Linked DNA regions of Homo sapiens: regions 1 and 2 are each linked to region 3. The links are contacts of gene promoters, found by promoter capture Hi-C in human tissues and cell types (Jung and others, 2019). All regions are on one chromosome and are shown on one strand. Each heading gives the region's core, a stretch centred on a gene start or on the middle of the fragment in contact. The rest is flanking DNA. Distances are from core to core; before and after follow the strand shown. Region 1 overlaps LOC101928387 (a long non-coding RNA gene). Region 2 has its middle 270 kb from the start of AEBP2. Region 3 holds the start of PDE3A (phosphodiesterase 3A).

Region 1 (3,013 bases), core at 412-2,911, 710 kb before region 3:
AACTTGTTAGTTTGCAAGTAGGCCCTTCACGGTGTGCTCGTTTTAACGCACTTCTGCAAAATTTATTTTAAAATCTGCTAGACCAGGGCTAAGCAATTCTGTAATTATTACCTTCAAGATAGTGTTTGCTCTCTTTCCATACTTTAGAGATGAAGTGTTACGATGTCTCTCTCTAACTTAACAAAGATCAGAGATCAGCTTACAATAAAATTAGAAATAAAAAACAAAACAAGTTGTTTACCATAGTTTGAAAAGCATGTCTCTATTGACAATTTACGACTAGGGCAGGTACTAAGAAGTTCCCTGTCTTTTTTCTCATCTACAGAATTTTTTTACTGCCACATTTCTCCATTTATCTTTCTTTCTCCACGACGTGCTATTTGAAGAGAAAATCCTTGGGAATTAGTCTCTCATTCTTTTCTCATGAGAAGCACTCCCCTCTCTGAATTTTTGGTGAATTAGATTTCTCTCTTAGCTATACCATGAAGGGCCCTGGCTTTTACAGCTACTTTCTTGTTTCTAGCTTGAACTCTGTGGCAAAATTTAAGTCAGTGTGTCAGAAGTCATTTAGACCAAGGATTTTGTTTTACAGATGTGAAAACCAAGGCCTCTGATGACAAGAAGAGCTATTGCCTTATTTAAGTTTCTCCTGACCTAACTACCTAGTGTTTTGGAGGAAATTGCCTTAGCCACTGTCAGCCCCCATCTTTCTGACACAAGGCCTGGCTCAGTTGCTAGTTTGGCCTAACATGATTGCTTCCCCTCAACAGCTCTAGAAATACAATTGTGAAATTGAAATTACTGTATTTGCAGGCTGACTCTGGCCAGAGAAACTGACCTGTGGATGAGTTGAAAATAAGCTTATAACCATGCTCGTTTTATAGTTAATTAACTTAGGGCACAGGTATTGAGAACCCAACATGTGCCAGGGCCTCTTGGGTACTGGAAAAATGCCTGGAGTGAGGCTGGGAGGGAAGCTTCCTAAAAGGTTGAGGAGGACTTTATTTGGGAAGAAACTGAGGGCAGGGTTCTGGGGCCTGGACTGTGTGAGAGTTTGAGGACTCTAAGGAAAGGAGAATGTTATGGAGTTCATCTTTGATTTTTTTTTTTTTAACCAGTAACTTATCATTTTTTTCCACAGTCAGAAACGTGACTGAAACATTTCTTCCTCTTAAGAGGCATTAAGAGAAAAGGATAGATTTCCTGTTTCTTTTGCAATTTTCCTCTTTAAGAAACAGAAAGAAAAAAAGATCTTATGTCCATGCTCCTGGAAGTCACCAATAAATAATACGGGCCAGGGCTTTTTCTTTTCAGCAGTGGGCTGATTAAATCCTTATACTTGTTCTGGGTTATATGTCTGAAATTTGTGTTCCTTTTGTTCTGAGGAGTACAAAATAATCAATTCCTCTAATGGAGATTACCAGCTTGATTAATAGATAATCCTAATGTGTTCTTTGTAAAATACATTATAAATGATCTTTAAAGTTGAAGGAAAGAAGATTGGGCCATGTAGAAATTTGGTTCTCAACAGAACCTCTTCTTGATTGAAGAAATATAAGCAAAGAGTTTTATATATTTCGGTAAGGGTAGGTAGTCTATGCATTTTCTGTTCTGAGTATTACAAAAGGAAAAGGGAATAAAAGCTTCTGCATATAGCAGAGATAAACTCCAAAAGCAGGAGACCAGTGAAGCCCTGGATCACTGCACTCCTCCAGCCTTCAAGGAGCATGAAGAGGGTCCACATAACAACAGAAGATGCTTCAGAACAAATTATGAGTCCATAAGAGATAAATTAGTGTCTTTATTCATTGCAAAGGAATGGTTATTATAAAAAAATCCCTGATGCTGTCTCTCAGACTGAACTTACGTATAGGCAGGAGAACACATGTAATTTATTGACTGATAAAACTGTAGGTAAGAATACATATGACTTCTATAACTTGTATGAAAAATGAAACTACACTTAAATGTAGGAGCAGTTTATATTGTTTGATATTTAACTGGTTGAGTGGTTAACATATAATATTTAAAAAAATCTTCTTTTAGTAGGCAGTTTAATGCTTATGGTCTAATTTTTATTTGAAGACATTTTGCTGCAGCAGAAACATAGCTGTGATTCATATACCTACTCTTGATATTAGCCTGGCCGTTTGTCCTGTGACGCTTAAGCTAGTTACCACCATTTATCTGGTAACTGTTTCCAGAATTGAAGAGATGATGCCTGGAAGGAGATAAACTTCAGGAGTTCACCTTTAAGCCTAAAAAGTACCAGCAAAATGCAATGACAGGATAAAAAGTTTGTCATAAATATTTTCACAAGATGGAAGACAAGAAAGCAAAGAGCAGCATAGAAAGAATGAAGGAATAAATAAAAATAAGTGAAAATGCTGCATTTTCTCTCATGGGATAGATTTTTCAACAACTCCTGAACTATGACCTCTCAAGTTCTTTTGCAGTTCTGTTCTAAGAAGTAATGAAATACATTTAATATTCCTGTCTTTTCACAACATTAATTCATTCCTACTTTAGCCTTAAGAATTTTAGTAGAATCTATTGTTTATTCATGCGTATAAATATTGTGGAAAAATATCTTTAGATGAGTTAGTATATATGAGACACTTAGGCCAGGATTTGGCACATGTCTGTACTTCATAAGTGTTTGTTATTGTTATTTTTAACAAGAGTAAAAAAAGATCTTATGACGCATCTAATATCATTTAAGCTGTTTATGGTTACTCCTTGGAATGCCTTCTGGTCAAAAGTTTCTGCAGCCCAGCACGACATTAATTTGAATGCATTGAGCCGGTTTCCCAGAGGGCTGGATGACATTTTTGACTTTTTAGGATTTTTGAGACTTTTTCTAATGACTAAGGTCAAAATCTCCCTTTCCTTGTCTCTTGAGTTTTAGGGGGCAACCAGAGATGTTTTGAAGGAAACCAACCATTAGATGTCACTTTCTTCTCACTGCTTTTGGTTTTAGGACCTATGACCTGGGTTTAAGCCTTTTGATTTT
Region 2 (3,408 bases), core at 145-2,644, 660 kb before region 3:
TGTATACCATATACAAAAATCGACTTGAGATTTGTTAAAGACTTAATGTAAAATCTAAAACTAAAAATCCTAGAAGAAAACTTAGGAAATACCATTCTGGACACAGATCCTGGCAAAGATTTCATGATGAAGAGATGAAGATGGTAAAAATAATTACAACAAAAACAAAAATTGACAAGTGGGACCTAACAAACCAAAGTACTTCTGCACAGCAAAACCAAAACAAAAACAAACAAAACCTATCAACAGAATAAACAGACAACCTACGGAATGGGAGAAAATATTTGGAAACTACACATTCAACAAAGGTTAAAATCCAGAATCTATAAGAAACTTAAACAAATTTGCAAGCAAAAAACAACCCTGTTGAAAAGTAGACAAAGACATGAACAGACACTTTTCAAAAGAAGACATACATGCGGTCAACAAGCATGTGAAAAAACCCTCAACATCACTAATCATTAGAAAAATGCAAATCAAAACCACAATGAGATACTGTCACATACCAGTGAGAATGGCTGTTATTAAAAAGTGAAAAAATAACAGATGCTGGTGAGGTTGTAGAGAAAAGGGAATGCTTATACACTGCTGGTGGGAAAGTAAATTATTAGTAGTTCACTTATTGTAGAAAGCAGTTAAGCCTTTCTCAAAGAGCTTAAAAGGGTATATACCCAGTAATGGATATAGTACACAGGCATATATACACATATGCACAATGGAATACTATACAGCCATAAAACAGAATGAGATCATGTCCTTTGTAGCAATATAGATGGATTTGGAGGCCATTATCCAAAGTGAACTAATGTGGGAACAGAAAAGGAAATACCACATGTTCTCAAGTATAAGTGGGAGCTGGAGGCCATTATCGTAAGTGAACTCATGCAGGAACAGAAAACCAAATACTACATGTTCTCATTTATAAGTGGGAGCTAAATATTGAGTACACATGGACACAGAGATGGGAACAACAGACACCAGGGCCTACCTGAGGGTGAAAAATGGGAGGAGGGTGATGATAGAAAAAAAAATTTACCTGTCAGGTACTGTGCTTATTACCTGGGTGATGAAATCTGTATACCAAATAATCTGTATACCAAACCTCCTTGACAGCCAATTTACCTATATAACAAACTTGCACATGTACCCATAAAGATTTTCTTTATGTGCGCCAAGGAGACTCTGGCTTTCACGCTTAGTTTATTTTTCCCACTAAACCACAAATTTGACAAAACTGAGGTATAATTCATATGTCACAAACCCACCCTTTATAGTATGCAATTCTGTGGTTTAGTATATTCACAAAGTTGTATAACCATCATGACTATTTCCAAAATATTTTCATTACCCCAGAAAGAAATCCTGAGCCCATTAGCAATCAGTAATTCTCTCCTCCTCCCAGTCTCTGGAAACCACTAATCTAGTTTTGTCTCTATGTGTTTGCCTATTCTAGACATTCCATATACATGTATTCATAAAATACGTGGTCTTTTATGTTTGGCTTCTTTCACTGAGGATAATGATTTCAAGCTTCATCCATGAACCATGTATTAGTGTGTCCAGAGTTGGTTCCTTCTGGTGGGTTCTTGGTCTCGCTGACTTCAAGAATGAAGCTGCAGACCTTTGCGGTGATTGTCACAGCTCTTAAAGGTGGCTTGAATCCAAAGAATGAGCAGCAGTAGGATTTATTGTGAAGAGCGAAAGAACAAAGCTTCCACAGTGTGGAAGGGGACCCAAGCAGGTTGCCGCTGCTGGCTGGGGTGGCCAGCTTTTATTCCTTTATTTGTCCCCACCCACGTCCTACTGATTGGTCCATTTTACAGAGAGCTGATTGGTCCATTTACAATCCTCTAGCTAGACGCAGAGTGCTGATTGGTGCGTTTTTACAGAGTGCTGATTGGTGCATTTACAATCCTTTAGCTAGACACAGAGTGCTGATAGGTGCATTTAAAATCCTCCAGCTAGACAGAAAAGTTCTCCAAGTCCGCACTCGACCCAGGAAGTCCAGCTGGCTTCTCTCATTTGAATATACTTATTCTCTCAAATGAATATATTCTGTCAAATGAATATACTTATTCATTTTTTATGATTGAATAATATTATACTTTATGGACATACCACATTTTATTCATCAGTTGATGGATGTTTGGGTTGTTTCCACCTTTTGGCTGTGATGGATAATGTTATGAACAGTGATGTGCAAGTTTTGTTTTTGTTTTTGTTTTGGTGAACGTGTTTTCAGTTCTCTTGGGCATATACATAGGAGCGGAATTGCTGGATCATATGGTAACTCCATGTTTGACTTTTTGTGGAACTGCTAGAATGTTTTCTAAAGTGATTGCATGACTTTATATTCCCAACAGTAATATAAGAGCATTCCAACCTTTCTACGTAATGGCCAACACTTGTTATAGTCTGTTTTCTGACCATAGCCATCCTAGTGGATGTGAAGTAGTATTACATCAGAGTTTCGATTTGCATTTCCCTAATGACTAATGATGAGTAACATGTGCTTATTGTCTATTTATATATCTTCCTCAGAGAAATGTCTATTCAAGTCATTTGCTCATATTTTATTTGGGTTGTCGTTTTGTTGTTGAGTCGTAGACATTCTTTGGATATTAAACCTTTGGCAGATATTTCATTTGCAAATACTTTCTCTCATTCTGTGAATTGTCCTTTTGCTCTCTTGATAATGTGCTTTGATGCACAAATGTTTTTAATTTTAATCAAGTTTAATTTATCTATTTTTCTTTTGTTATGCTTTTGGGTCCATATTTAAGAAACCATTGCCAAATCCAAGGTTATGAATGTTTACCTCTATGTTTTCTTTTAAGGTTTTTAAAGTTTTAGCTCTTAAACTTAAGTATTTGATCCATTTTGAGTTAATTTTTGTATATGGTGTAGGGGATCTACTTTATTCTTTTGCATGAGGCTTTCCAGTTGTTCCAACGCCACTTCTTGAGGACACAAATTTTGCCCCATTGAATGGACTTGGCACCATTGCCAAAAATCAATAGGCTAGAAGTGGGTTTATTTCTGGACCCCATTGATCTGTATATCTGTCTTGTACTACATTGTCCTGATTACTTTATCTTTGTAGTAAGTTTTGAAATTAAGAAGTGTAAGTCCTCTTTGTTTCACATTTGGATTTTTTTCCCCCACCGATTTAAGAAAATAGTGCGGTAATACCAATTAATGTGAGATCTGCTCTCTTAAATTTTTAAGTGTACAAAACAATATTGTTAATTTTAGGCACAATGTTGTAGATCTCTAGAGCTTATTCGTTTTGCATAACTGAAACTTTGTACCCATTGAATGTCAACTCTGCACACTTACCTTTTTTTTTTTTTTGAAACAGAGTCTCAGTCTGTCACTCAGGCTGGAGTGCAGTGGTGCAATCATAGC
Region 3 (3,133 bases), core at 129-2,628:
TATCTCAAGGATCTCCTTTTGGCTTTTTTTATTGCTTCATGTCTACATACAAAATACAGTGGCATATTGAATCAATTATCTAAATGCTCTAGGCTGTAAATACACTTTAACCTGGAATGTCAAGATAATTAAGACAAAATTGGATTATTAAGATTATTATTAGTGAGGGCAAATGACATCTAAGATAGCCATGTTAAAAGTGGAGTATCATATTAAAAAGACAACTAGATCCCAGGGAACATCAATAGAGTTTAAGTCCATTGAACAGATACTGAATTCTTTTTCATAATCTGCCAAAAAAAGGTTAGCTTGAAAATTTTCTTTTAGTTTCTCAAATATCACACTGCTGCAGTACACGAACCTTTACTCATTAATAACTAAGGTCCTGATTTTTTTCATATGCTTTGCTCGAAGATGTAGTATTTTGCAGCCATAGACAGTCTTCTAAGATCTCTCCTAGTGTTAACCCACCTATCCTCACCTCTCCCTTGAGATTTTTCTTTATTTTTTGATGAACTATCTGGGCTTTTAAACTTTGTTAACCTTTTTTGAGGATACGGTCACTTAATCTCAATGTAATTTTACTTTCCACAGTCAAAAACTATTGTGTAATACTCATGCACTGGATTTAAATGACTGCTGCCTCTCCTTCCTTTCTTTTTATACTATTGTGGTCTAGGTAAGGCTGATTCTTCCATCATTTGAACCAACAGGCCAGGCTTGGGTTCTCATAAAGCAGACCTTCCAGCAGGAGCGACCAAAGGATGACACTGTCACCTGAAATTGGACTGCTGTTGTACCTGACTTGGGAACATCTTTGAATCAGACAGTAGAAGTGGCTGTCATTTTCAGGGACAGTAGAAAGTATGTTGGCTCTCATCTGCCAAGTAGGCAAACACAATCTTTTTTTTTTTTTTTTCCTTCCAACGTTCTAGGGAGCTCAGCCTCAGGGCTAGCCGCAGCCCCCCACACCCCGGGGCTGCGGTGGGCTGCGCGGTGGATCAGCCTCAGCAGCCCCTGCTCCAGCCTGTAGGGTGAACCGGCCGCTTTCCCAGCAAAGGAGCAATCGAGCTGAGGGTAGCGCCTCCTCCGCAGGAGGGGGCGGGAGCTCGGCTGAGAAAGCTTTCCTAGGGAGTTGCCTTAAAGAAAGAAAGCGGAATTGTCGATCACTCCAGTTGCCAGTTTTATACAATTTTAAGCAGTCGTCGCCACTCGTTTCCCCTTTGCAAAACTGCAAATCACCACCAACCTTGCATCAAATAGAAGTGGGGAGGGAAAAAAAAAGCAAATCTCCTTCTCCCTTCTCACCCTCCCTTTCTTCTCACCCTCCCTTCCTCTCTTACTCGCTCCTTCTCCCTCCCTCCCTTCTGCGGCTGCCGCTAGTCTCTCGGTCTGGCTCTCTCTCCGACGGGACTTAGCAACTTCTTATTTCTCAGCCCCTTGTCCATTTTTTTTTTTCCATCCTTTGCCATGAATTGGATTGACAGAGGCGGGGGAGGCTTTGCTTTCTGCCCCAGGGAATGGCGATTCGCGTCCTGGGGCCGTGCCGGGGAGAATCGGCCGAGGAGAAAGAAAGAGTGATAGAAAAAGAGCTGCAGGAAGGAGGAGAAGGGAGACCTCCATCTGCCGCGGGCCCGGCGCGCTGCAGCGCAGCGCAGCGCCGAGCTGCGCCTCGGAATGGCCCGGAGCCCGCCCTGCGCCCCCGGCTCCTCCAGCGTCAGCGGCTCCTGCGCGCGGGATGCATTGGGCAATTTTTGAAATCCTGAAGTAGGAAGAGACCCCGGAGGATATAAGTCGGGGGTGGGGGTGGAGCAGAGAATCTGTGAAAGATATTCAAAGAGAGAAAAGGGGAATCCTGATCGTTTCTGCCCGTGCTTGTTTTCAACTTGAGCGTGCTAGCCTTTAACTTGAAGAAGTCTCATTGGAGCATCTAGCATTCTCCAGGAGTTATTCGAAAGCTGAAACTTTCAGTGGATTGTGGGCCTGGGGAGAAGAAGGATTCCGAGGGTGGAATTGGGAAGAGCGTGCGTGCGTGTGTGTGTGTGTGTGTGTGCGCGCGCGCGCGTGGGTCGGGGCGGGGGCGTCGGGGGGCCACTGGGAATTCAGTGAAGAGGGCACCCTATACCATGGCAGTGCCCGGCGACGCTGCACGAGTCAGGGACAAGCCCGTCCACAGTGGGGTGAGTCAAGCCCCCACGGCGGGCCGGGACTGCCACCATCGTGCGGACCCCGCATCGCCGCGGGACTCGGGCTGCCGTGGCTGCTGGGGAGACCTGGTGCTGCAGCCGCTCCGGAGCTCTCGGAAACTTTCCTCCGCGCTGTGCGCGGGCTCCCTGTCCTTTCTGCTGGCGCTGCTGGTGAGGCTGGTCCGCGGGGAGGTCGGCTGTGACCTGGAGCAGTGTAAGGAGGCGGCGGCGGCGGAGGAGGAGGAAGCAGCCCCGGGAGCAGAAGGGGGCGTCTTCCCGGGGCCTCGGGGAGGTGCTCCCGGGGGCGGTGCGCGGCTCAGCCCCTGGCTGCAGCCCTCGGCGCTGCTCTTCAGTCTCCTGTGTGCCTTCTTCTGGATGGGCTTGTACCTCCTGCGCGCCGGGGTGCGCCTGCCTCTGGCTGTCGCGCTGCTGGCCGCCTGCTGCGGGGGGGAAGCGCTCGTCCAGATTGGGCTGGGCGTCGGGGAGGATCACTTACTCTCACTCCCCGCCGCGGGGGTGGTGCTCAGCTGCTTGGCCGCCGCGACATGGCTGGTGCTGAGGCTGAGGCTGGGCGTCCTCATGATCGCCTTGACTAGCGCGGTCAGGACCGTGTCCCTCATTTCCTTAGAGAGGTTCAAGGTCGCCTGGAGACCTTACCTGGCGTACCTGGCCGGCGTGCTGGGGATCCTCTTGGCCAGGTACGTGGAACAAATCTTGCCGCAGTCCGCGGAGGCGGCTCCAAGGGAGCATTTGGGGTCCCAGCTGATTGCTGGGACCAAGGAAGATATCCCGGTGTTTAAGAGGAGGAGGCGGTCCAGCTCCGTCGTGTCCGCCGAGATGTCCGGCTGCAGCAGCAAGTCCCATCGGAGGACCTCCCTGCCCTGTATACCGAGGGAACAGGTAAGCACTGGCAACTCCTCTCTCGGCTCTTGGAAACTTGAAACACT

What was found. Contacts are between HindIII fragments. The study calls those that stand out against the background at their distance.
Region 1: a contact is called between a fragment that was not itself captured here and the fragment with the promoter of PDE3A in region 3, in 1 of the 25 tissues and cell types used here (aorta).
Region 2: a contact is called between a fragment that was not itself captured here and the fragment with the promoter of PDE3A in region 3, in 2 of the 25 tissues and cell types used here (H1 embryonic stem cells and heart right ventricle).

Annotation. Positions count from the first base shown.
Region 1 is chr12:19,652,101-19,655,113 of GRCh38, forward strand. All of the region lies in intron 5 of LOC101928387 (a long non-coding RNA gene), which reads left to right. Among named protein-coding and RNA genes, the nearest start is that of AEBP2, 210 kb to the left of the region's middle. The HindIII fragment of the contact is 3,329 bases long and covers 1-3,013 here.
Region 2 is chr12:19,705,743-19,709,150 of GRCh38, forward strand. No RefSeq gene overlaps it. Among named protein-coding and RNA genes, the nearest start is that of AEBP2, 270 kb to the left of the region's middle. The HindIII fragment of the contact is 4,327 bases long and covers 1-3,408 here.
Region 3 is chr12:20,367,159-20,370,291 of GRCh38, forward strand. It overlaps PDE3A (phosphodiesterase 3A), which reads left to right and starts at 1,379. Exons shown (of 16, transcript NM_000921.5): 1 at 1,379-3,086. The coding sequence starts at 2,127. PDE3A-AS1 (PDE3A antisense RNA 1) reads right to left here and starts at 3,098. Exons shown (of 2, transcript NR_186033.1): 1 at 2,683-3,098. RefSeq lists a silencer at 2,417-2,711. The HindIII fragment of the contact is 7,833 bases long and covers 1-3,133 here.